7 separate regions of the Homo sapiens genome follow, and all the other regions are linked to region 3. Evidence: promoter capture Hi-C in 16 types of primary human blood cells and fetal thymus (Javierre and others, 2016). All regions are on one chromosome and are shown on one strand. The core of a region is centred on a gene start or on the middle of the fragment in contact, and the rest is flanking DNA. Distances in the headings are between cores, read along the strand shown. Region 1 overlaps ELF5 (E74 like ETS transcription factor 5). Region 2 has its middle 10 kb from the start of LINC02722. Region 3 holds the start of NAT10 (N-acetyltransferase 10). Region 4 has its middle 8.6 kb from the start of LINC02721. Region 5 overlaps CAT (catalase). Region 6 overlaps CAT (catalase). Region 7 overlaps LOC105376622 (a long non-coding RNA gene).

The links. Contacts are between HindIII fragments. The CHiCAGO score rates a contact against its expected background, and 5 or more counts as called.
Region 1: a contact is called between a fragment that was not itself captured here and the fragment with the promoter of NAT10 in region 3, in 4 of 17 cell types (megakaryocytes, erythroblasts, M0 macrophages and 1 more). The highest score is 9.3, in megakaryocytes.
Region 2: a contact is called between a fragment that was not itself captured here and the fragment with the promoter of NAT10 in region 3, in 1 of 17 cell types (erythroblasts). The highest score is 5.4, in erythroblasts.
Region 4: a contact is called between a fragment that was not itself captured here and the fragment with the promoter of NAT10 in region 3, in 2 of 17 cell types (megakaryocytes and erythroblasts). The highest score is 6.3, in megakaryocytes.
Region 5: a contact is called between a fragment that was not itself captured here and the fragment with the promoter of NAT10 in region 3, in 1 of 17 cell types (erythroblasts). The highest score is 5.3, in erythroblasts.
Region 6: a fragment that was not itself captured here is called in contact with the fragment with the promoter of NAT10 in region 3 in 3 of 17 cell types (erythroblasts, fetal thymus and neutrophils); the score reaches 8.9 in erythroblasts.
Region 7: a fragment that was not itself captured here is called in contact with the fragment with the promoter of NAT10 in region 3 in 11 of 17 cell types (fetal thymus, total CD8 T cells, naive CD4 T cells and 8 more); the score reaches 14.0 in fetal thymus.

What each region holds. Positions count from the first base shown.
Region 1 is chr11:34,494,045-34,497,896 of GRCh38, forward strand. All of the region lies in intron 2 of ELF5 (E74 like ETS transcription factor 5), which reads right to left. Among named protein-coding and RNA genes, the nearest start is that of ELF5, 18 kb to the right of the region's middle. RefSeq lists an enhancer at 2,104-2,603. The HindIII fragment of the contact is 3,648 bases long and covers 755-3,852 here.
Region 2 is chr11:33,792,776-33,796,125 of GRCh38, forward strand. No RefSeq gene overlaps it. Among named protein-coding and RNA genes, the nearest start is that of LINC02722, 10 kb to the right of the region's middle. The HindIII fragment of the contact is 1,185 bases long and covers 721-1,905 here.
Region 3 is chr11:34,103,312-34,107,192 of GRCh38, forward strand. NAT10 (N-acetyltransferase 10) reads left to right here and starts at 2,318. Exons shown (of 29, transcript NM_024662.3): 1 at 2,318-2,481. RefSeq lists an enhancer at 2,071-2,530. The HindIII fragment of the contact is 3,708 bases long and covers 1-3,193 here.
Region 4 is chr11:33,829,287-33,832,630 of GRCh38, forward strand. No RefSeq gene overlaps it. Among named protein-coding and RNA genes, the nearest start is that of LINC02721, 8.6 kb to the left of the region's middle. RefSeq lists a silencer at 411-500. The HindIII fragment of the contact is 900 bases long and covers 1,604-2,503 here.
Region 5 is chr11:34,451,803-34,455,443 of GRCh38, forward strand. It overlaps CAT (catalase), which reads left to right. Exons shown (of 13, transcript NM_001752.4): 4 at 275-405; 5 at 1,288-1,392; 6 at 1,999-2,124. Among named protein-coding and RNA genes, the nearest start is that of CAT, 15 kb to the left of the region's middle. The HindIII fragment of the contact is 9,504 bases long and covers 1-3,641 here.
Region 6 is chr11:34,468,990-34,472,720 of GRCh38, forward strand. It overlaps CAT (catalase), which reads left to right. Exons shown (of 13, transcript NM_001752.4): 12 at 1,969-2,052; 13 at 2,379-3,071. The coding sequence ends at 2,444. Among named protein-coding and RNA genes, the nearest start is that of CAT, 32 kb to the left of the region's middle. The HindIII fragment of the contact is 2,316 bases long and covers 156-2,471 here.
Region 7 is chr11:34,434,832-34,438,684 of GRCh38, forward strand. LOC105376622 (a long non-coding RNA gene) reads left to right here. Exons shown (of 3, transcript XR_931180.3): 3 at 1,415-1,491. Among named protein-coding and RNA genes, the nearest start is that of CAT, 2.2 kb to the right of the region's middle. The HindIII fragment of the contact is 1,653 bases long and covers 1,658-3,310 here.

The DNA of each region.
Region 1 (3,852 bases), core at 1,329-3,828, 390 kb after region 3:
CAAAAGCACAAACTCAGCTGTTTGACAAGCTGGGTTGAAATTCTGATTCTACCACTTTCCGCTTGGCAAGGTCTGTGGACATTGAAGTCTCAGTTTCCTCATCTGTAAAATGGGGATAATATGCTCAATGCCCAGGACTATTATGGAGTTTGGGGTTAATGTATGTAGAATGGCACACAGAAACTTACCAACCAATTCAATAGTTACTAAATGCCTACCGTGTGTCAGAAACCATTTGAAGCTGGTTTTGATTCCCTATGCTTTAAAGGGCAGCTGCCCAATGCTGGCTATTTGTTTCTGCACAGTTACTGGCAATCTTGTGCCAAGAACCTTGGGTTATTAGACATTGCCCAGAGTCTGACAGTCCTTGCGTCACCATAGTAGGCACCTCCAGAGGAAGGTGGTCATGGGAGAGTTGGTTGTATTGTTGTTCTTGTGTTTTTGGTGGTGTTCAGAGTAATTTCTATCCTGAGATCAGAGCCCCCACTCCTTTAGAGGAGTCGTGTACATGCCTAGACAGTTGTGAGTGCCATCTGTCTGGGAGGCTGGCATGTGGCTTTGCCTGGCCCAGGGGTAGAGATTTGGTGTTCAACAGTTCTGTCCTTCTGTTCTTAGGAGAAATGGAAAGTGGGGTGGACATAAGGTATGGAAGAGGTGCTGTATTAGGTACTTGGTCAGGCTCTTTGACATAAACAATTATTGTATCTGCCATGGAAAACATTCATTCATTTATTCATTTCATTCAATAAATAAAAGCTTTAGTTTCCTTACTGGTAAAATTGGAATAATTACAGCACCTGTATCATAGTGCTGTTCTGCAGATTAAATGACTTAATATACATAAAAGTACCTGGAACAGAGCCTGGAGGATTTAAATGCTATTACAAACATTATTATTGAATATCTACTATGTGTGCAGCCACACGTTGTATGTTAAGGATTCATGGTGGACAGGTTTGGTCCCCCGTCCCCCAGGAGATCACAGAAGAGGAACTTGAAAGTCATGAAGGACTTTCCCAAGAACCCACGCCAGCGTGTGGCAGAGCTGGATTTGAACCCTAGCCTGAACTTGAAAGCCATTGCTCTCCCCACACCACCATACCGGGTCAGCACAGAGCAGAGATGGAACGTGAAGAGTGGCTGAGGCACGGGGAAAGCTGGAGAGAACACAACACGAGGGCCTGAAAAGAAAGGCAGAGAGCAGAGAGTGGCTAAGGTGACGATGACAGAAAGGGTCCCTCACATGTTATACCCCACAGCAAATAGCAGTGGTGCGATTTGCAGCGTTTAAAGGTGAGTAGAACTCGCACCATTGTCAGTTGCTGATGATTCCAGGCAGGAGGTGGGTCCTCTGCCTGTCAGGTGCTACTACTCACTCAGCACCCTCAGCCAGCCGAGGCGCTACGCGTTCTTGTCGTCTCAAGTTTCTCAGGTCCCCTCAACAATCCTATCCAGTAGGTGTAATTGGGCTATTCCACAAAAAAGGAAATAGAGGCTCCCCTTAAAACTCAAAGGTCTTCCAGAGATCTCTTTTACCACCGAAGGGTGGGTGGAGGGGCAGTTGATTTATTTTATTTAAAAATTTTCAGAATTTTATATGCATTAAGATCAAAGCGTCAATATTGTGCCAGGGTGCTTGAGGCTGATGTCGTAGCCTCTACCTGGCAGATAGGAAGAGCCAGGGAGCCGGTGAGACCGATGACTCAGGTCTTGCTCACTGGCCACTGGCTGGAGCTGGCTTACCAGGCCCGTGGGGGCTCTTCAGGGCAGGCAGGGGTTCCTGGCAGAACAAGGGGCCATTCCTGAGTTCGGCCTGAGCTTTCATCTACTGATTTCTGGCTTTAGTAAACCTGAGGGGCCTTTTGGACTTTACTGGCGTCCTGTGAGAGATGTTTATGAGCCTTGACATTTTTCAGCTGCGGGCCCTGCCCTAGATGGCCATCGGTGTGCGGCCGTCGGAGGGCACAGTTGATTTCATGGAAAGGTTTCGCCAAGGCTCTGTTCCCGTTTCCCTCCCCTCCCCTCTCTGCTTCCACCCCCTTGTTATTTTCTTTGGCACTTGAAGAGGGCCATATTGTTTGCGGAAGCCAAGGGGGCCTCAAGGATTCGGAGAAACGCCCAGGCGGGGAGTCGGCCCCACACCGGGGAGGTGTTGCTGGCGCTGGCTCCCTGCTCCTCGGCGCTCTGCTTTGAAGCTCACCCACAGAGCGGCTTTGTGTGCGGCCTCGGCCCCTGGAGGGGAGCCAGAGCCCTGCGGAGGCTCCCTCTCCTCATCCGCAAGCTCCTTCCAAAGCCCCAGAACTGGGAGGAAAATGGCTGCTCTGGGTGCCATGGCAGGCCTCTTTTCCGGGGGTCCCATCCTCAGGACGGGAGGAGAGTGGCAGAGCGGAGGCTGCCCAGACGAGGGACGCCGCTGTCAGCCCCTCCTCACCAGCCCCTCTCCTGCTCTTCTCTTTCAGGAGGCTCCACGGCCCAGAGTCTTCCCACAGCGACTTCTCTTTGGATGGAACGTGGTCCCCATCTGCCTTCTCCTGAGGAATCTCTGCTCATCCTCACTCCCCCTCGCAGAGGTCTCTTCCTCCTCACTGAGTGCCCATCAGGCGTCCTCCTCATCCCTCCCCTCCAGACCTAGAGCTTTTGCTCGCCCTGAACCAGGAGTGCTTGGAGCCTGGCCTAGCCCACCACAGGCCTACCTCAGTGAGTGTGACTGACTGACCAGGTGACTGACAGTCACTCTCTCCACTTTACACGTGAGGAGATTGCCGTTCCGGGGACTGACGGGACCCCTGTAAGGTCACGCGGCCTGTCAGTAAAGGAGCTACTGAAGAGGGAAAAGTGGCATTTTCCCTCTTACCACGCCCCACTCTTCTTGGTTGAGGAGGACCAAGTTGGGCACACATCTCAAGACTGACTAAAGCAAGATTTGGATGAAGGTAGATATGTGTAATTGTAATTATAAATAATGGATAAGCAGAGCCTGACTAGAAAAAATAAAAAATACAATCTAGCTTTGAAGAATCAGAAAGAGGATGGAGAGACTGAAGATGATAGTGTTTAGAACCTTAATGAAGACATGAAGAAGACCCTTTTGCTACTTGGAAGACATGAACTCAGGGCAATCAAATAAGGGGTTATATACCCGCAGAATATATTATTTTTAATGGGTTGTGTTGTCTGGAAATGTAAAGTGTTTTTCTCAACGCTTCTATCATTTATAAAATAATCTCAACATTTTGGGAAAGTTGAGCCATGAGGCCCTTCTGCCTATGTCGACCAGTAGACCATCATGGGCCTGGTAGGCTTGATCTGAATGCCCATAGGTCACTATTATTAAGCAGCAGGCTCTGCCAGCTCCTTTGAAGTCTGAAGTGGGTCAGGACACTTGTTTCAGGGCCAGCTGCATTGGAAGGAAGAATTGAACTAGAGGGAGTTTTCAGAAATTCTAGGGGAATTTTCACAAGTGATGCTATAATCTGAGATGCATTTAAATTCAGAAGGAGGACTTTAGCTTTCAGAGCTGGGTGGGTGCACCAGATGCCCGCAGGGTCAGCAGATAATGTCTATGCCTGAAGTGGCCCCATGTGGAGACAGTGGGGATTGGAAAGTTCATGCCAAAGTGCACAATGGCTACCCGACCCCTTGCCTTGTGGAAAGGTGGGCCTTGTGTTGCCAGGACCAGATTGCTAACTGAAATCTCCTGATTTCTATTTTCAAGTGTGGCAACTGGCTTGGTTTTTACAAAACACCACGGGAAGCCCAGTCAAAATGTCTTCATGGGCTGGATCACTCCTGGCCATCACTTTGTGATGAACAATCTGACAGGCTTTTGGCCACTTGTCTCCTTCAAGATTA
Region 2 (3,350 bases), core at 63-2,562, 310 kb before region 3:
GCACCTCCTCTTCCTGTTCTACCATGCTGCCTCCTTGAAGGAAACAAGGTGAAGCTGTCCTAGGAGAGACCTATTCTCCTCAGGGAAAGGCAACAGCAAATTTGATTTGTGTAACAAAAATATATTCCATACATAGAAATTGACAAACTGAATTTAAAATTTAGTCAAAAAGGCAAAGGACCTAGAATAGCCAAAACAATCTTCAGAAAGAAAAAGTCTGGAGGTCTTAACTTCAGGACTTAATAAAAGCTGCAGTCAGACTGGACGCGGTGGCTCATGGCTGCAATCCCAGCACTTTGGGAGGCCAAGGCAGGTGGATCACTTGAGGTCAGGAGTTTGAGACTAGCCTGGCCAACATGGTAAAACCCTGTCTCTATTAAAAATACCTAAAGTTAGCCGGACGTGGTGGCAGGTACCTGTAGTTCCAGCTACTTGGGAGGCTGAGGCAGGAGAATCGCTTTATGTAGGCATAAACCTGGGAGGCAGAGGTTGCAGCGGGCCAAGATTGCACCACTACACTCCAGCCTGGGTAACAGAGTGAGACTCCATCTCAAAAAAAAAAAAAAAAAAAAAAAAAAGCTGCAATTATCAAGACAGTGTGGTATTAGTGAAATAAATGACAGATCCATGAAACAGAATGAAGAAACCTGAAATAGAATCACATGTATATGGTGAGAGTCCCAAAACCTTTTTGTATATACAGTACAGTAGAGAGAAGAAAGCTTTCTTAGGGTGCTTTAACCAACTCTATTGAGGTATAATTTATATACAATATTATGCTTTCAGTTCAATGAGTTTTGACAGGTGTATAAGCCTGTGTAACCATTATCACAATGTTCTACATTTTCAATACCCTCAGAGAATTCCTTTGTGCCTCTTTGCTGCCAGTTCCTCCCCAAGCCTCAGCCCCAAGCAACTGCTGATCTGCGGTCACTATAGATGAGTTATGCCTTTTCTAGAATGTCCTATGCCTGGACTCATACAATAGATAGTCTTTTGTGTCTAACATATTTATGATGAAATATTGGAAACATTCCCTTTGAGACTGGGAATGAGACAGGAATGTCCACTATCACTGCTTAAATTCAACATTGTACTAAATAGTCAGTGAAGTAAGGCAAGAAAATAAAATATATGGTAAAAGATATTGGAAAGAAGAAATAAAACTGTATAATTTGCAGATTATATCATTATGTGTTTTGAAAACCCAAAAGAATCTACATAAAAATGTTAGTTACTATGAGTGCATCTTCAGTTTCCTGAATATAAAATCAATATATTAAATTATATTTCTAGGCCAGGCACAGTGGCTCATGCCTGTAATCCTAGCACTTTGGGAGCCCAAGGTAGGCAGATTGCCTGAGCTCAGGAGTTCAAGATCAGCCTAGACAACATGGTGAAACCCCATCTCTACTAAAAATACAAATAAATTAGCTGGGCATGGTGGTGCATGCCTGTAGTCCCAGCTACTCAGAGCTGAGGCACAAGAATCATTTGAACCCGGGAGGCAGCAGAGGCTGCAGTGAGCCAAGATTGTGCCACTGCACTCCAGCCTGGGAAACAGAGTGAGACTCTGTCTCAAAAAGAAAAAAATATATATTTCTATACATAAACCACACAATTAGAAAGCTGAAATTTAAAAAGGTAACATTTACAATAGCAATGAAAAATAGAACCTGGAAAGAAATCTAACAAAACTTATGCAAGAATTATTGGAAAAAATTATAAAACCAATAAAAGGCATTTTAAAATACCTAAATAAATGAAGAGCTATAACTTTTTAACTTACTACAAATAAATTGATTTAAAAACTCCATATCATAGAAATATAAATGATCACAAATTGATCTGAACATCCAACAATAAAAATACAAATCTCAATGGATATTTTGGTAAAATTTGGCAAGCTTATTTAAATATTTGGATGAAAAAGCACTAGTCCAAAAAAACGCCAAAATACTCTTGATGAAAATGAATATGATGGGGAGAATTGCCCTACCAGATATAAATCTATAACAATTAATTCAGGGCAGTATTGTCGTAGAGATAGAAAAAAATACACTAATGCGTTAGAATAGACAGCTCAGAAAAGCAATAGGAATATATGGACAATGTAATATATGGTGAAGGTGCTATAACAGATCAGTGAAGGAAAGTTTGAATTTTTTCAGTAAATGGCTCTGAGATCACATGAATAAAGAAAAATCAGAGGCTAGAGGAATTTTAAAAAGATACAGGACTTGTATAAAACAAACAGCAAAATGGCAGGCATAAATCCTACTGTATCCATAACTGGATTAAATATAAATGGATTAAACATTCCAATTAAAAGGCAGAGATTGGCAGAAAGGACTAAAAAACAAACAAACATGATCCAACCATATTATGACTAAAGAGAACACTTTAGAACCAAACAAACAAATAGGTTGAAAGTAAAAGAATGGAAAGCTATACTAAGGAAAAATAACCGAAAGAGAGCTGGAGTGATTGTATTAATAACAGACAAAATGGATTTTAAGGCAAAAATTGTTCTAGAGACAAATACAATTTATAACAATTAAGGATTAATCCATTAAAAAGATAGAAATATTATAAACATGTATGCACCTAACAGCCTTAAAACCTATGAAGCAAAAACTGATAGAACTGAAAGAAGAAATGAACATTTCTACAATAATAGTTGAAGATTTCAGTACCTGACTTTCAACACTAGACAAGACAACTAGACAGAATATTAACAAGAAATAGAAGACTTAAGCAACACACAAATAAACAAGACTTAACAGACATCTATAGAATACTCCCCCGAGAATACTAGAATACACATTCTTCTCATGAAACATTCTCCAGTATAGACCATAAAACAAATCTCAATAAATTTTAAAAGATTGAAATAATACAAAGTATGTTCTCAGACCATAATGGAATGAAATTAGAAAGCAATCACTGCATATGCAGAAGAATGAAACTAGACCCCTATTTCTCCTCATATTCAAAAATCAAATCAAAATGGATTAAAGACTTAAATCTAAGACCTTAAACTATGAAACTACTACAAGAAAACATTAGGGAAATTTGTCGGGGCAAAAAATTCTTTTTTTTTTTTTGAGACAGGGTCTCACTCTGTCACCCAGGCTGGAGTACAGTGGCATGCTCATGGCTCACTGCAACCACAACCTCCTGGGCTCAAGCGATCCTCCTGCCTCAGCCTCCCAAGTAGTTGGAGGGAGTTGATGTACTACAGACATGCATCACCACGCCTGGCTAATTTGTGTACTTTTTTGGTAGAGATGGGGTTTTGCCATGTTGCCCAGGGTGGTCTCAAACTCCTGGGCTCAAGCAATGCGCCT
Region 3 (3,881 bases), core at 1,068-3,567:
ATCAAGTGGAAAGAGAAAGGACTAGCAGAGTTACAGGTTAGAGAAACAGGTAAAGGCTACTATGGACGGCATAATAGTTGCATCCCATGTTTTGTCTCTTAAGAACAGTTGCAAACTATTGAAGGTTTTAAAGCTGTGTGTTGGGCCGGGTGTGGTGGCTTGTGCCTGTAATCCCAGCACTTTGGGAGGCCGAGGCGGGTGGATCACGAGGTCAGGAGTTTGAGACCAGCCTGGCCAATATGGTGAAATCCCGTCTCTATTAAAAATAAAAAAGTAGCCAGGCGTTGTGGCATGCGCCTGTAGTCTCAGCTATTTGAGAGGCTGAGGCAGAAGAATCGCTTGAACCCGGGAAGTGAAGGTTGCAGTGAGCAGAGATCGCGCCACTGCATTCCAGCCTGGGCGACAGAGCGAGACTTCGTCTCACAAAAAAAAAAAAAAAAAAAAAAAAAAAAAAAAAAAAAAAAAGGCTGTATTGTTTGGGGTGGGGTTGGTGGCTCACTTAATAAAGTTACCATTTAAAGAACATTCAATGCAATGAACAACATATATGGACCAAGAGATGGTAAGGAGGCTTGTTGGAGTGGCCCATGTGAGAAATGGATTCCAACTTAAGGTGCGGATGGGGTGGTGGTAGTGAATGGATTCTATGGATTCCCTATCTCACTGGTCACTACTCAGTATCCTTTGCTGATTTCTCCAGGTCTTGGATGTCAGACTTCATCTCTAGCTGTGTTCTTCCCTGGGTGATCTGATCCAATCCCATGATTTTGAATATGATCAGCATTTTAGTCCTGAATATTTCTAGGCCCCAAACCTCTCAAAACTCATATTCAACATCTTGATATGAATTTCTCAATATTCCAAGTCAACTCCTTGATTACCCAACACCAGTTGTTCATTCATCCAGTTGCTCAGAGCAAATGTTTTGGGTGCCATCTTCAATGTACTTTTATAACCTGCATCTAATCCTTAAGTGAGTCCACGTGGTTCTAACTTGAATATCCAGAGTTATCTTATACTTCTAACTACTACCACAACTACCATCCTAGCACAGGTGACTACAATAGCTTATAATTGTTCTCCTTTTTCTACTTTTGCCTTCCTGTGATTTAGTTTTTGCATAACAGGAAGCCTTTTAAGAGGGCAAAGCAGATTTTCTCATTTCCCTGTCCCCCACAAACTCCAGTGGTTTCTCATCATGACTAGAATTAAATTCTAAATCTGGTCCTTCACTTGCCCACTGCTTTGGCCACACTGACTGCTTTGCCAGGACTCCCCCATCTTGGAGCTTTTGTATGTACATCTTTGGCACGGGGAAGTTTTTCACTCATATTCTCAGGGCTCATTCTTTCTAAATTTCAGGTCCTTGTTCCATCCAGTGTCACCCCGTCAGAGGCCTTCAGTGTTCGTTTCTAAAATAGTATCCTTAGTCACTTTACTCACTGGATACTTCTGCTTAATAGCATTTAAAACTTAACCTAGAATTAACCACGAGGGGCAGGAACATTTTGGACACTATCCCTTGTGAGCAGAATAGTGCGTGGGCATATTCACATTTTGCTGAATGAACTAAAAAATTTCATGATGGATGTTGGATTAAATGGGTAGTGCTGCTGATGACATTAAAAGTGTATCTGGGGAAGGGGTTTGGATTCAGACATTTGCGGTATCCAGGAGGAAACATCAAGCAGTTGATAATGTTTTTTGAAGTTCAGCGATCTGCCCCAAAGTCAAGAATGCAACACTATGTATAGGTTGTCCCTGTAGTCATGTTCTTGGAGTTCACTGGAAGCCCAGGGGGAGTAATTTCATTTGACGACCATATACAGGCCTAATGGGAGCCTGCAAAGTACAGCGGCCGCAGTCATGGGTAGATTACAGGATTCCCATCTGTAAGATCAGTACTGTGGGGGTGGAGGGCCAAGCGAAACCAATAAAATAGGTCTGTTGGCCGAGTTTCCTCAACTTAACGGGGATCGGTTAAATTGAACACAAATCGTTGGATCCGTCGCGTTTCGCGTAACCAGGCTGACGCTGAAAACCCTGGACCTACGTGGGCAGGCCCTGGGGTGCGGACATCTATTTTGCCCTTCTTAGCCGAGGTACTTTAGCTGGGATATGAAGAGTGAAGAGGCAAACCGCAGCCAACACCCAGCTACCGCGAGCAGTGGGACTAAAATGCGCAACCGCAGTGGACATCTAGGCCTCAGCTCCGCTTCTGGTGGCTTACGTCATTACTCAGCGACAGCCTTGAGGAAGGTCCCTTCTCGCTCGCCATCTCTGCGACTTTAATGCGCTTGCGCACGTGCTGTCTACCAGTTCCTGAGAGGGACGCGTGCCGCGGAGCCAGGCTTACTACGTGACCCGGACACCAGGCATACGCTAGGGGCAGTCAGCTGTGCCTTCTCTTTCGGAGTTGTTCCGTGCTCCCACGTGCTTCCCCTTCTCCACTGGCTGGGATCCCCCGGGCTCGGGGCGCAGGTACCCAACGCGGGAGGGCCGGGTATGGATGCCAAGATCGGTGTCTGTGTTCTTCCTGGGTCGAGAGGGGACCGGCCTCAGGATGAAGGCTCTGCATCCGGACGGATACCTGGCCTACGCCGTTTGTCCTCCACCCCTCTTTTGGGGCGCTCCAAGATAACAGAATCACCTCTCCAATACGCAGCCGCTCTCGGCGCGTGCTTCTCGAGCGTCCTCGGGGATTTGCGTGGCTCGATAACCACCTCTAAGTAGTGCCTGTAACTGGGGAGTCGGGGTGAATGGGTGGGTGACAACAGTTGTTTTCCGTGGAGCTTGCCCGCAGTGCCTGGCTGCAGGTCTGGGCATTATACTTAGGGTAATCTGATTCCAGATCCTTCCACGTTCTTAAATCCTTCACTGTGCACATTCCTTTATACTCTTTATTCAGCAGTCACATTCAGGACTTGGTTTTGTTTGCCAGTGCACCTAAAATGGTGCCTGCCACATAGATGTTATGTGTAGATAGACGAATGAGTGAGCGAAAAATAATCATCTCCTTCAAGGCCTTCCCCATCCAGGCCTTCCATGACAGCTTCAGCCCATAGTAATCTCAGCCCTTCCTTCATCTGACCGGTCCCTCAGTATAGCTATTTTTTTTTTTTTTACATCTAATTTTACCTGTGTTCTTGTTCCTCATCTCATTCTCTTAAATACCTTCTTCAAGAAGAATGCAAGCTTGAAGTCAAGGGCCTTGTGGTACTACTTCTGGGGCTCCCACAGTAGCTAGAGCAAAAGGCAGCCCCCATTAATTAGTTGTTGATTGATTTTTGCGGGATCTTTATGTGGCCGGCAACACAAGGTTTACAAGTTGGGAAGATTGGCGAACTGGGAAGAGCTCAGGCTTTGGAGTCAGGAAGACTTGAGTGTGAATTCTGTCTGTCGTTTTTCTGCCTCGGGATATTTGAATTCTTTATACTTTCTCCTTTACGTATAAATTGGGGTCCTTGACAGTGACTTAGTGTTTTATAGTAAGACATATGCTAAAATCTGTTTGGATTGGAAGGTTAGAAGGGACAGTTAAGGTATGGTAAGTTTCAGTAAATGAGCTTTATGTTTATAATGCAGTAGGTACCAGAGTTTCTAAGTAGCATGTCACTTTTACATCTAAGTAGCATGTTACTTTTACAGTGATATTTCTGATGGTTTTTTTGATGTATTTATTGGGATGATGCAGTATTTTACTGTAGGTAATCACAGAACTTTTTTTTTTTTTTTTTTGAGACGGAGTCTCACTCTGTCGCCTAGGCTGGAGTGCAATGGCACACCATCTCGGCTCACTGCAACTTCCGCCTACCGGATTCAAGTGATTCTCTTGCCTCAGCCTCTCCTGCAGCTCCACTACCACTCCCGGCTAAGTTTTG
Region 4 (3,344 bases), core at 804-3,303, 270 kb before region 3:
AAAGCTGCCCGTCCCTGTCAGCGCGGCAGGCGGTCCCGGAGCCAGGTCCCAGCGCCTCCCAAGGCGGGGGGAGGGGGCGGCCCCCACACCTGGACCCGCGGACACCTGGGCGGAACCCCAAGCCGCAGCGATAGAACGGCCCTTTGGAAATCAGATTACCTGGATCCTGGTTTTCTCCGCATTCATTTCCCTTCTTGTTCCCGAGTTCCACCAAGAGGAATTGAGTTCTGCCCCTTTCAGCGGCGCAACTGGGTTAACTGGGGAGCTCTGGACCCTATGATCTCGGCATCTTCATGGCCATGCTTATAACCCATGTTGCTTTGAGTTTACATGTCATCTTGGCATTTGCTAAGGTCCTATTCGAACTTTTCAGTCTTGAGGCAGACTCCTTAGAAGGAGTTAAGAGAATAGCAAGGGTAAGCAGTGCCCCTGTGTGGCCAAAATGGTGGTGGCAGGAAAACCAATGAGAAAACACAAAGGCAAATCCACGAATATGAGGGTCAGCTCTAGGTTTGGCCTCCCCTTTACAAGTTTCTTCTGCACTTTCCACTCCAGAAAGCCTGGCTTTGATTTTGTTTTGGACATGGCAATTTATACTCACTTTTTATCCGGTTATTCTCTCACTTCATGTGGATTGGAGCCCCAGATGTGCCCAGTCTCAGATTCGAGTCTGTCCTAGCCATAGAACACCAGTTCCCTCAAGGAGAGAGGTGGAGTCAAGATCAGGACCAACAGGACATCAGAGTTCAGGGCTGTCTGATGAATTCAAGGAGATTCTTATTTAATCCATTTTCCATAGGAAACATCGACTCCTGGAAGAAGTTGGTGTGGGCTGCCTGGGAAAGGAGGTTTAGCATCATATGTGGGCTGGTGGTGGTGTGCTCTGGCTAACTTAACATCAAGGGATAGGGAGGTTCTGTCCTCAGACCCAACTGAGTTCCCATCATCCCCCACACCATGCCACCCATCAGTGAGTACAACCTGTAGGGATGCCCTGGAGGCCAAACTTCCCCTAAGTGCTGGGCTTTCAGCTTCTCTTCCCAGAACATCAGACTGACTTAGCTTTGGAATAACTTGGAATTGCAGACTGAGCATTCTGAGAATTCTGGTGATGTTGCAGGGTAACCTGAAATGGGCTGCCCTCCAGTGGGGTTATTGGGCAGAGTAAGGGTCAGGATGGAAGTCTGCCACTTTAGCTGAGGCCAATTTATTATTCATTTATTTATTTATTTAGAGACAAATTCTCGCTCTGTCACCCAGGCTGGAGTGCAGTGGTGCGATCTCAGGTCACTGCAACTTCCACCCACCAGGCTCAAGTGTTCTCATACCTCAGTCTCCCGAGTGGCTGGGACTACAGGCATGCACCACCACGCCTGGCTAATTTTTGTATTTTTAGTAGAGACAGTGTTTTGCCATGTTGGACAGGCTGGTCATGAACTCCTGGCCTCAAATGATCCACCAGCCTCAGCCTCCCAATGTGCTGGGCTTACAGGCATGAGCCACCGCACCCAGCCAAGAAATTTAAGTACATTTTCCTTCTATTTATATTTTGTAAGGGGCAGAACCAGGATTTGGACCCAGGTGTCTAACTCTGGAAGCTAAAAGCTTTCCATTATAACAAGTTGCCTCACCTGAGCCCGACTTAAAATCAGGTGATCTCAGCTATACTGGACTCCAACAGGAGTCATTGCTATTTTCTTGCTGTTGTATTTTATTCAAGTTTAGAAAAAGAAATAGCCAAAAAGCTCAGGCAAGGAGCAGACAAGACACAAAGAACTCTGAGTTCTGCCTGGGGAAGGAGCAGGGGACATGAGTCACCTTCCCCTCTAGACACAGTACTGCAATAGGATAATCCTCTCCCAACTTCCAAATAGAAGTGGCCAAATTTAGTGGCAGGAGGAGCTAGGGGCAATGTGATTGCGACTCCCACCTCTATCCAGAGAACTGGCCCTAAAGCATCTCACCTGCTGTTTCACCGAGAGGCTCGTGGTCTCCAGCATCACCCAAGAGCTTCTTAGTAATACAGAATCTTAGGCCCCACACCCAACCCACTGAATCAGAATGTGCATTTTAACAAGATCCCCAGGTGATCCTCATGTACATTACAGTTGGAGAAGTGCCTAGAACTTGACCCTTCACCTCGTTATAACTCAGTAACTTCACTTGTGAATCAGGCACAATAGCACCTGCTTGACTCACCACTCCTGGCTGTATGAGGATCAGAGAGGACAATGTAGGAAGTTAGAGGCAGAGGTGTTCAGGAAGTTATCTCTCGTGCCCCCTCTACCTTCTCCACTGCCATGGAAGCCTAATCTCTCTCTCAGAGGGAGAAGACTAGCAGGTGGCTCTTCTCTGGAAGAGCAGAGGAAATCAGGGACCCTCAACAGCCCATCCTCCATGGCCCCTGGGGGAATCTCTGAAGATTCTAGCTTTTCAACTGAAAGTTAGGCTGTAATTGACACTGTGTAATCCAGTAGACGGAATTTTGCAGAAATAAATATGAAGCTTATATTTGGGTTTTTAAAAAATCAAATTAGGCTGGGTGCTGTGGCTCACGCCTATAATCCCAGCCCTTTGGGAGGCCGAGGCAGGTGGATCACCTGAGGTCAGGAGTTTGAAACCAGCCTGGCGAACGTGGAAAAACCCCATCTTTACTAAAAATACAAAAATTAGCCAGGCATAGTGGTGCATACCTGTAATCCCAACTACTCAGGAGGCTGAGACAGGAGAATCTCTTGAACTTGGGAGGCAGAGGGTGCAGTGAGCAGAGATCGCACCACTGCACTCCCGCCTGGGTGACAGGGCAAGACTCTGTCTCAAAAAAAAAAAAATCAAATTATATAACAAATTATTCATGTGTGTATATATATATATATAGATATTAGGTTGGTACAAAAGTAATTGCGGTTTTTGCATTGTTAGAATTTTCCGTTTGATATTGGAATAAAACATAAGGCAAGAAAAGATAAAATTAAGAACATAATTCTTATTTACATTTAAGAATGTAAATAAATGTGGTTACCGTATACATCATTTTAATGGGCATTTCTCGCTTTATGTTTTTTTGCTAGTTTATTTTATGTTTATTTTAGACTATGGAAATGATGTTAGACAAAAAGCAAATTCGAGTGATTTTCTTATTTGAGTTCAAAATGGGTTGTAAGGCAGCGGAGACAGCTCGCAACATCAGCAGTGCGTTTGGCCCAGGAACTGCTAACAAACATACAGTGCGGTGGTGGTGCAAGAAGTTTTGCAAAGGAGACAAGAGCCTTGAAGGTGAGGAATGTAGTGGCCAGCCGTCGGAAGCTGACAATGACTAATTGAGAGCCATCACTGAAGCTCAT
Region 5 (3,641 bases), core at 548-3,047, 350 kb after region 3:
ACCTGTTTGAACAAAGTTATCTTATTATGGTAAATGAATGACATTGTCAGCTGTTATTACATGTGTTCTCTTATTGCTCTCAATTAATTATTTTGTTTGATTTGTGGACTGAATTAGCTGGTGGGTAGAAATAATAACCCGGGCACTTAAATACCTAATTTAGTTCTTGGAAGTGGATTAGAAAGGATGGATCCAGGTGCTTCTTTATGTCTCCAGGCTTCTTGGATGCAAAGTGCTGTGGCTTATGCTTCCTGTTTCCATTTGAATATTGTAGCTGGAGAATCGGGTTCAGCTGACACAGTTCGGGACCCTCGTGGGTTTGCAGTGAAATTTTACACAGAAGATGGTAACTGGGATCTCGTTGGAAATAACACCCCCATTTTCTTCATCAGGGATCCCATATTGGTAGGTAATAGAGTATTTTGCACTCAACAAATGTTTGTTGACTTAAATTGATTTCAAATAGGTTGGCATTTGAGGAGAAGCCGTGGGAAAGGCAGAAAGAAAAGAATGCGAGTTGTCTGGACTACTTTTTTCAACACATTTTTCTGTATTTAATAAGATAAAGTAAGAACAGTTACCATTGGTCTTAGATTTGTCATTTTAAGACAGATTGACTTAATGGGAAGTGAGTTTAGTTTTCCTTGCAGAGCATCGAAGATTAGTAAAAAGAGGGACTTTACTTTGGAAACAAGCAGAGGGTGTCTCTACATGCTCTGAGTCAGCAGGAGGGGGTGTGTGTGCGTGCGCGCATGCGGGAGGGTGGGTATATTTTTTCCGTGAAGAAATACTATAAATCCCAGCACTTTGGGAGGCCAAGGCAGGCAGATCACTGGAGTCCATGAGTTCGAGACCAGCCTGGGCAACATGGCAAAACCATATCTCTGCAAAAAAATACAAAAATTAGCCAAGTGTGGTGGCTCATGCCTATAGTCCCAGCTACTTGGGAGGCTGAGGTGGGAGATTTGCTTGAGCCCAGGAGGTCAAAGCTGCAGTGAGCTGTGATCATGCCATTGCAATCAGCCTGGGTGACAGAGTGAGACCCTGTCTTAAAAAAAAAAAAAAAGAAAAGACTATAGTTTTGAGTATATTTGAAATACTTTAGGGTATCTTAGATGCTAGTTGTCTATGCTGAGTAAATTTCATATTATGGTTTGGCAGTTTAAAATTCTAGGATTGTATTTAGAATTATAATCCATAAACCTAGTAATAGGCATATATAATGAAAGACACCATAATTCCTGTAAACTTAGTTTTTGGATTTTTTTCTCTCTTTTTTCTATTTAGTTTCCATCTTTTATCCACAGCCAAAAGAGAAATCCTCAGACACATCTGAAGGATCCGGACATGGTCTGGGACTTCTGGAGCCTACGTCCTGAGTCTCTGCATCAGGTATGAACCCTTTTTTGCCATTGTATTATATCACCTGGGATGCAGTGTTTAATTATGCCTCTTCATAAAGTGTCTCTCCAGTTTTGGCTATTTTATTGGAATCAGCTTCCTCAGATTTCTTGATCGTGAAGAGTTTTGTAGTAACTGGCTTTACTAATCATCCCCCATTCATCGGCCTTAAATGATGATGATGATGATGATAGATAGCTAGCAACATTGTCAGTTGATATTTAGCAGTAGTAAGGATGAAAGTCTGTAGTGTAAGGTAAAGCTCTGTATTAAGGAAGTGGGGGGAAAGTAGTACCAAACAAATTTGCTATGCAAATAAATTTTGAATAACAAATTAGGCCAGTTTTCAGGTTGTTTTGGCTTTCCTTCATAGAATTTTGAGTCATAGTATTAGTGATTTGCATATCATTTTGATTTAAAATTTTTCTGTTTGTTATTTTCTACAAGTGAAATAATAATGGTAACCCTTCCCATGGGAAATTGGCTAGTATGTTTTATGTCATTAAGGGACTTTCTGGAAACTAAGGAATATCTTAAAAATCAAGGATGTTTTGATTTAAATGAAAACATTTTAGGCTTTATATTTCTGTTCTTTAGGTTTCTTTCTTGTTCAGTGATCGGGGGATTCCAGATGGACATCGCCACATGAATGGATATGGATCACATACTTTCAAGCTGGTTAATGCAAATGGGGAGGCAGTTTATTGCAAATTCCATTATAAGGTATGTGTTACCTTTGGGGCAGAGGGTACAAGGCTCCTACCGCATACCTCCTTATTTTTCCTGAAGGATTGAGCAAAGATTAAGGCTTCTCCCACTTTTCCCTCACCTCCATCCCCAAAGTTGGGAAGTATTGATCTCATTGATCAGTACTGATTTTGTTGGCTACCATCTGAGGACCTTGGAGCGTATCCCAATCTCATTATCACTTCCAACATCCAATAGTGTCTTTCCAATATCATTTCTTTTAACTTTTTAAGTCATCCATCTATTTACTTAGCATTTATTGAGGTTTTATTATGAACAAGGCATATAAGTAAAATCAATTACAAATGTCAGAAAACAAAATTATACTGTTTTTAAAAATTTGCATTCATATAGCCAGATCAAATCAGTTACATCTGGGGAGGGTTTTGAGAATGTTTTAATCAACTGAAATATTATAAAGGGCCCTCTTTTGGTATAAGCATGGCATTTGTTACAATGAGCAATATTGCCAGTGAACCCTGGCATGTTAGTGATATTCCCAGAGAACTCCCAAGGGCTAGTCAGAAACAAGCCTGAGAACCTCTGTTTCCAAATACTGCTGCTAAGATAAGCAGAAAGAAGTGGGCTCGTGACCAGTACTGGATAATCTCTCTCTTAGTGACATCCAAAAGCCCTATTTTCTTCTATCCTGCTTTCTTCTTTATCTGAACAATTTAATGTAGGTATATCAAACAGGAAAACTATCACCTCTTTTTATATTCATAACTTGGATCTATAATATTTGACAAGGAAAAATTTTATGAAACAGTTGACCCATTGGCTTGTAATTGCCAAAAGGGTCAATGTAGTATTACTTAGAATAAGACTAAGTGGTTGTATCTAGGACAGCCAGTCTAGTTGGTAGCCTTGGAGTTATGCCAGCCTGAACTCAAATTTCTACTCTCCTAGATAATTGTGGCCTTGGGCATAGTATTAAAAGTTCTTTGAGCTCCAGTTCTTTTCACTGTGAAGTTGGCATAATATTACCAGCTATACAAGTCCTGGAAAGATTGGATTGCTTGTGGGTCTTTTATCCTAGGGCCCTAAGGTAGCCTGAGATCTACATGGATTCATCAGTCTGGATTATTCTGACCTAAGATTATTCTTTTCTAAACCTAAAGGATTCAGTTAAAATCAGAAAGGTATTGCAGTGTTATTGTACTACTTAATATATTAGCTCTTTGGGCGATCTGTACATGGTGACCTTCATTGTTTTAATCCTGAAGGTGGCTTTACTTCTTGTTCAGTAGTAAGAGTTCAAACCTTTTCACTGATGAGACAGTTGGGATTTCTGTGGTAGAAATAGACCAGCGTTCAGAGTTGATTTTTGCTAAGGAAATCTTTCTGCGGCACTTGGCTTGTTGGGAGGTCTTTGAGAATAAGATCACATGGTCAGTCCATCAAAGAACAGTATGATATGATAACAGGAGCACTTATGAAGTGACACAGCTTCTCTGGGTTTTAATGTCTTGCTTGGAAAGTCAGAATATTAA
Region 6 (3,731 bases), core at 64-2,563, 360 kb after region 3:
GACTAGAAATTTGCATGATTTCTGGAATAAGAACTGCAATGCTTCCAAAAGGCAGGCTAGACTTTCATGCTAAGGTGCTGGGGTATTTCTGATGGCCGCTCATCGAGCTGAGTGAAGCCCTCTCACTTCTGGTTTCCTGGCCTGTCCCAGAGCTAAGCTTTTTGCAAATCTAGAAATCCCCCTTTTTCCTTGGCCCCTAGTTGCTGCTTCTCAGTTCCTAGGGGCAGCTGGGCTAGCAGCTGTCTGGGCTGTGTCCCAGAGCCTGGGTTCCAGTATCAGCAGAGAGCTTGACAGGCGCTCTGTGTGGTAGGCAGGGCAGGATTTATCTCCTTTTACTGGAGAGAATGGATACGACAGCTTGTAAATAGCAGAACTGGGCTGGAACCCTTGGCATTCTCCTTTCACATATGCTGAAACTGTAAGGCTTTTATGGGTTCCCAATGCCCTGCCTCCTCTTGCTGTCCACTGGGGAATTCCTGCCTGAAGTGTGTGGAGTTGTGCTGCATGTACCAGTGTTCTTGTATCCTTCACATTAACTTTAGGCTGTGTCTGGGCCCGTTTCTCAATGTAAATCACTGTAATTTGTTAAGCGCTTACTCTGAGGTCAGCTCTTTTCATGCAGTAAATGCACCTCACTTCTCAGCATTTTTCTCACAGCATCCTGTGAGGTAGGTTGTGTGGGTTTTTTTTTTTTAAGATGGAGTCTTGTTCTGTCACCCAGGCTGGACTGCAGTGGCATGATCTCGGCTCACTGCAACCTCTGCCTCCTGGGTTCAAGAGATTTTCCTGCCTCAGCCTCCCCAGTAGCTTGGACTACAGGCATGCCCCACCATGCCCGACTAATTTTTGTGTTTTTAGTAGAGATGGGGTTTTGCCATGTTAACCAGGCTGGTCTTGAACTACTGACCTCAGGTGATCCACCCATCTTGGCCTCCCAAAGTGCTGGGATTTCGGGCGTGAGCCACTGCGCCTGGCCTAGGTTGTATGGGTTTTTTTCCCCGACAATAAGCAATTCTGTAATTCTTTGACAGTAACTGTGTGTCCTATAACTCAATTCAATTCTAACAGTAGCTCCTGGAGCTAGAGTCAGAACCCAAAGATTTAGGGGTCATTTCCCACTTTAGATAACAAATGAGGTACCCTGGCTATGCACACTTCTGCAGATTCTGACTGCAAATCAAACCCTTTCCTCAGGTTTGATAATTTGCTGGAAAGACTCATAGAACTCAGGAAAATGATTTACTTATGATTACCAATTTATTATAAAGAATACAACTCAGGAATAGACAAATGGAAGAGGGGCATGGGGGAAGGCCTCGGAGCTTCTGTGCCTCCCTGAGTGGACCACCCTTCTAGCTCCTGGATGTGTGCACTAATCCAGACACTCCCTGACCTTGCCAGTTGTGGGTTTTTCTGGAGGTTTTATGACATAGGCATGATTGATGAAATTATTGGCTATGGGTGATTGAATACAATCTCCAGCCCCTCTCCCATCCCTGGAGGTTTGGGGGTGGGGCTAGAAGTTCTAACCTTCTGATCGCGTGCTTGTTCTTCCTGGTGTGAGCCTCCATCAGGAATCTATGTAGGCCCCCATGAATCATCTTAGTAGTATATAAAAGACAGTACATTCGAAGGGTTTTAGATCTGTGTCAGGAATGGGGGACAAAGACCAAATAGTATTTTTAAAATTATACTGATTAGGTGTCATTTTCTTGCGCATTTCGGCAGAGGGACATAAGCTCAGTAAGTTAAGTGACCTATCCGAGGTTGCTCAGCCAGTATATGTCAGAGTGTTCACTGGACCTGCATCTTAACTCTGAGGCTGGCATTGTTAAACACCTGTAGTACTGCCTCCTGCTGAAACGTCTTTCCTCCCCTATGGAATAAACACTGGGAAACCACAGTCCCTGGGGAGTGATATAGTAGGGAGTTAGAGTAATGCTTGCATTTATTTTCCTTTGGCCTTAGGTCAAGAACTTCACTGAGGTCCACCCTGACTACGGGAGCCACATCCAGGCTCTTCTGGACAAGTACAATGCTGAGAAGCCTAAGGTAAGCTGGGAGCAGCCTGGCCATGCAGAGGCTGTGTGTGCTGGGTTGGAGTAGGCATGACTTAGTTACCACTTAGCATTACAGTCTGCAGGGGCCATTACCTGCCACTGTTAGATTTCTTAGGCAGCTGTGCAGAAATTCATTTGAGAGATAAAGAATTCACTGGCAAAACACATACTCTTCATTTTAGCGCTGGGCAATTTAAGACAGTTAAAGTGAATGAATTCTGAATTATTATTTTCATTTGCATACATATTAAAACTGAGTAAATATCACGTTGCTGCCCATGAGGTGATTAACCTGCTCATCTTGTTCTTTTAAAACAGAATGCGATTCACACCTTTGTGCAGTCCGGATCTCACTTGGCGGCAAGGGAGAAGGCAAATCTGTGAGGCCGGGGCCCTGCACCTGTGCAGCGAAGCTTAGCGTTCATCCGTGTAACCCGCTCATCACTGGATGAAGATTCTCCTGTGCTAGATGTGCAAATGCAAGCTAGTGGCTTCAAAATAGAGAATCCCACTTTCTATAGCAGATTGTGTAACAATTTTAATGCTATTTCCCCAGGGGAAAATGAAGGTTAGGATTTAACAGTCATTTAAAAAAAAAATTTGTTTTGACGGATGATTGGATTATTCATTTAAAATGATTAGAAGGCAAGTTTCTAGCTAGAAATATGATTTTATTTGACAAAATTTGTTGAAATTATGTATGTTTACATATCACCTCATGGCCTATTATATTAAAATATGGCTATAAATATATAAAAAGAAAAGATAAAGATGATCTACTCAGAAATTTTTATTTTTCTAAGGTTCTCATAGGAAAAGTACATTTAATACAGCAGTGTCATCAGAAGATAACTTGAGCACCGTCATGGCTTAATGTTTATTCCTGATAATAATTGATCAAATTCATTTTTTTCACTGGAGTTACATTAATGTTAATTCAGCACTGATTTCACAACAGATCAATTTGTAATTGCTTACATTTTTACAATAAATAATCTGTACGTAAGAACAGAGATGGTATTTTCTTTCTTTCGACTCCATATGTAACTGTAAACTGCTACCAGACTCTTAATTTGAACATCATCATTTTCAGATGTTTACCCTTAAAAATGGAAATGCCAGTATCTCGAGGACTCCATGTTATTTGTTTAAATCTATAGCCTTTGGACAGCCTTCTGAGACACTGATAAAATAGCAAATGCCCCAACTTTGAAAATTACTTAAATCTCTTGTCCATTTGCTCACTTACCTGTGATTGACTTTTTAAAACAAGGGCTCAGAACCACTGGTCACTTTCCTCTTCCTTCTTTTTAAAGCCCATATTTGCCTATCATGGTTGAAAATCACATGGAAGACTTTAAAGATGAGTTCTGAATACTAAATGAAAATTTGTTTTCCTTGAAAATCTTTATTCCGTTCATATTCAAAACCAGTTTGTGCCGGGTGTGGTGGCTCATATGCCTGTAAACCCAGCACTTTGGGAAGCCAAGGCAGGAGGATCACTTGAACTCAGGAGTTTGAGACCAGCCGGGGCAACATGGCGAAGCCCTGTCTGTACAAAAAATACAAAAATTAGCCGAGTATGGTAACGCATGCCTGTAGTCCCAGTTACTAGGGAGGCTGAGGCGGGAGGATCTCTTGAGCCCAGGAGGTTGAGGCTGCAGTGAGTCG
Region 7 (3,853 bases), core at 1,234-3,733, 330 kb after region 3:
GAGTATGTAAATAAAGGAATAGTCCTTTGATTGCAAATTGTGTAGGCATAGGAGAAAAATATCACATTTTGGAAAAAGATTTAATGACTTGGAAAAAGTTTTATCTGATAATGTTAGGTGGAAAAAGCAGGATATAAGATTATGTATTCTATAGGATCCATTGTAAAACTCTCTCTCACACACACACACACACTCCTTTACAAACATATAAGAGAGAAAATATTGGTAAAAATGTTACCTGTTTATCGTAATCTTTGAATGATTGTTTGATATTTTATCCTGCATTTTCCAAGCCTCCATTAGTAAGTATAAAAAATAAGTTAAGGGCCGGGCGAGGTGGCTCACGTCTGTAATCCCAGCACTTTGGGAGGCCGAGGTGGGTGGATCACGAGGTCAGGAGATCGAGACCATCCTGGCTAACACGGTGAAACCCCGTCTCTACTAAAAACACAAAAAAATTAGCTGGGTGTGGTGGCGGGCGCCTGTAGTCCCAGCTACTCGGGAGGCTGAGGCAGGAGAATGGCATGAACCCAAGAGGCAGAGCTTGCAGTGAGCCGAGATCTTGCCGCTGCACTCCAGCCTGGGTGACAGAGCGAGACTTCGTCTCAAAAAAAAAAGAAAAAAAAGTGAAGGTAAAAACAAATTCCCAATTATTATTTCTATGTTTCTTCTGTTTTTTGTTTTGTTTTGTTTTTGAGACGGAGTCTTGCTCTGTCACCCGGGCTGGAGTGCAGTGGCATGACCCCGGCTCACTGCAACCTCTGCCACCTGGGTTCAAGCGATTCTCCTGCCTCAGCCTCACGTGCAGCTGGGACTACAGGCAAGAGCCACCACGCCCAGCTAATTTTTGTATTTTTAGCAGAGACAGGGTTTTGCCATGTTGACCAGGCTGGTCTTGAACTCCTGACCTCAAGAGATCCACCTGTCTTGGCCTCCCAAAGTGCTGGGATTACAGGCATGAGCCACCAGGCCTGGCCTATGTTTCCTTTTTTTGCAAACACCAGATCAGTAGCGTGGCACGTAAGGCCGAGGCGGGAAAAGGCACATCCATGTTCTTCTCCTTAGCATAGCTCATGCTATGGCCATCACCAGACACCAGAGGACATCTGGGTTGCCTCCTCCCAAGTAGGCAATTATTCATATTAAAGCGGGAAAGATATGGTGCAGCCAAATAGGCAGAGCAGAAGGTATGTGCTGCTACTGCATATAACACCACTGCTACTTTTTAAAGCAAATCCCACCTTCTTCTTTGGCTTGCTCAAGCCTGTTCCACAGTGAACAGGAGTCATGGAGCTGTGGTGATGTTTATTCTCTTCTCTTAAAGCCAACAGCCAATACTGAATTGTAACTCTCTTTGTTTCTTGTTGTGTTCTTTTCTCTTCCTTTTTGCCTAACTCTGAATTTACCTCACAAGGCCACTGTGAAGAGAATGAAACTGAAATATGTAGAACATTCTCGGCCTCTCTGAGGATGGGTGGAATCAGAACAGAGTAATTACCCCTTGTGCTGTCTTGTATGCCTGTCATCCAACAACACATGATGTTCATTCTCTCCATTCTTTTCTTGCAATACTGATGAAATAAAATTTGTCTATAAAGATTCCTAGCTGAGTACTCAAATGTTTTTCTTGAACATTTGTTACATGGTCTACTTTGCAAGCTTGGTTTCAAATTTGTTGATACCAGGATTAATAACAGTATGTCTTGTGCCAGTATATTTTATTTTCATTGAGTTCTGAAAATTGACTTCAGAGAACAGCATTTTTAAAATAACATTTTTATTTATATCAATAAAAATACCCATGAATTCATATGACTAAAATATTAAAACCTAGAACCCAATTTGTTTACCTAACCAATCACTTGCAATTACCTTTAGGTAATTGTATTGGTTTGGTTTCAAGTATTTTTTAACTAGGGCTGATTTTAAGAAGTGTTTTCATTTAAGCTGTAATTATAGTCGATAGAACTTCCACCTAATATGTGACTTTTTTTAATTTTTAATTTTTTTGAGATGAAGCCTCACTCTGTCACCCAGGCTGGAGTGCAGTGGCACAATCTTGGCTCACTGCAACCTCCGCCTCTTGGGTTCAAGTGATTCTCTCGCCTCAGCCACCTGAGTAGCTGAGACTACAGGCGTGTGCCACCACGCCCAGCTAATTTTTGTATTTTTAGCAGAGGTGGGGTTTTACCATGTTGGCCAGACTGGTCTCGAACTTCTGGCCACAAGTGATCCGCCTGCCTCGGCCTCCCAAGGTGCTGGGATTACAGGCGTGAGCCCCCGCACCCAGCCTCCTATGTAACATTATAAATTTATTGTCATTACTTGTAAGCCTGCCCTTTATTTTAAAATACAAGATATGACAAGATCAGAAACCAGTCTTGTTTCTCCATTTCTTTCTCTAGAAATAATTCTTTAGGAATTCAAATCCATAGTAACAAAAACAAAGGAAAAAAAAACATGCTTTTTTTTATATAATGAATAAAGGTTAAGAAATGACTCCAGGTCTCTTATTTATTTTGTTGATATTTGTGTTGGTTAGTTAAGAAGATGATTTGCTCGATTATTTCAACATTTATTTATTCAACAAACTGTGGACTTTGGAGATGAACAGCTGAAGCTAGAATCCTGACTATCCCTTAATAGCTGTGTAACTTTGGGCAAGTTATTTAACCTCCCTATACCTCTGTTTCCTAATCTGTAAAATGAAGATAATATTAGTATCTAACTCATAGGGTTGTTGGGAGGGTTAACTAAGCAAATATACAAAAAGCTGAGAATAGTCCCTGGTATATAGTAAGTGCTCAATAAATTATGGATGGGAGGATCCTGACCCACATGGAGTTTACAGTCTTGGCAGTATGGATCGGGCAGGTAGAAAAAGACACCAAATTACACAGCCAACAGCATCTTTATAATTGTTTTTAATATAGGAAAAGTATAGGGTGCTAAAGATCAATTTGTGGCTTTCTTTTCCAATGAACTGCTAAAGTTCCACTTTTATGCCCAAGATTCTTATCATACTTTTGTAAGATCAAGAACAACATGTGAAGTTTCCACTATTATATATCCACCCATTATATGTAGTTGTACTGGAAAAAATTAAAAGCTGATAACTTTTAATTTGAAGATGATGGTATATACTATGTATATATATTAAGGTGCTTAAAGATAAATCCTAGCACCTGAGGAGGTGTAGAAATCATTCAAACTCTTTGATTACAATGACAAACTAGTCAGTAACTTACTAAATATTGTACTATATATTACTAAGTATTTTACTCTTCAACATAGCTTTTTAAAGACACAAAGCTTTTCAAAATTCCTGCTTACCTGGGGGTAAAATTTGGGGAAGCAGATTTCTCCAGTGTTTAAAGAAGCCAATTTGGCAGTGTACCAGAGTTGAATACATTTTTCCCATCACAAGGGAATACATTTTTCCCATCTAAGTTAAGTTGTTTTTCTCTGGTAAAGGAGGAAATCAACACCCATCTGTACGGAGATAAACGTTTCAGAGTGTTTTTATATTAAATAATTAGTATACTAGTCTAGTAAGTGATAATCCACGAATAAGTTAAGAAGAGCTAAGAAAGAAAAAGAAAAGCATCCATCCATCCTTTGGTTGCAAATAATACTTACATTAGCGTATGGCAAAATTTAATTTTGTACAGAGTAATTTAACCCAGGATTGCTGACTTTTTAAGAGCTGAGAAAGCATAGCTATGGAGCGCAAGGCCCCACCCAGCAGGGTCTAAGTATTCCGTCTGCAAAACTGGCAGGCCACCAACGGCCGCGTCCCAGGGCGGCCTGAAGGATGCTGATAACCGGGAGCCCCGCCCTGGGTTCGGCTATC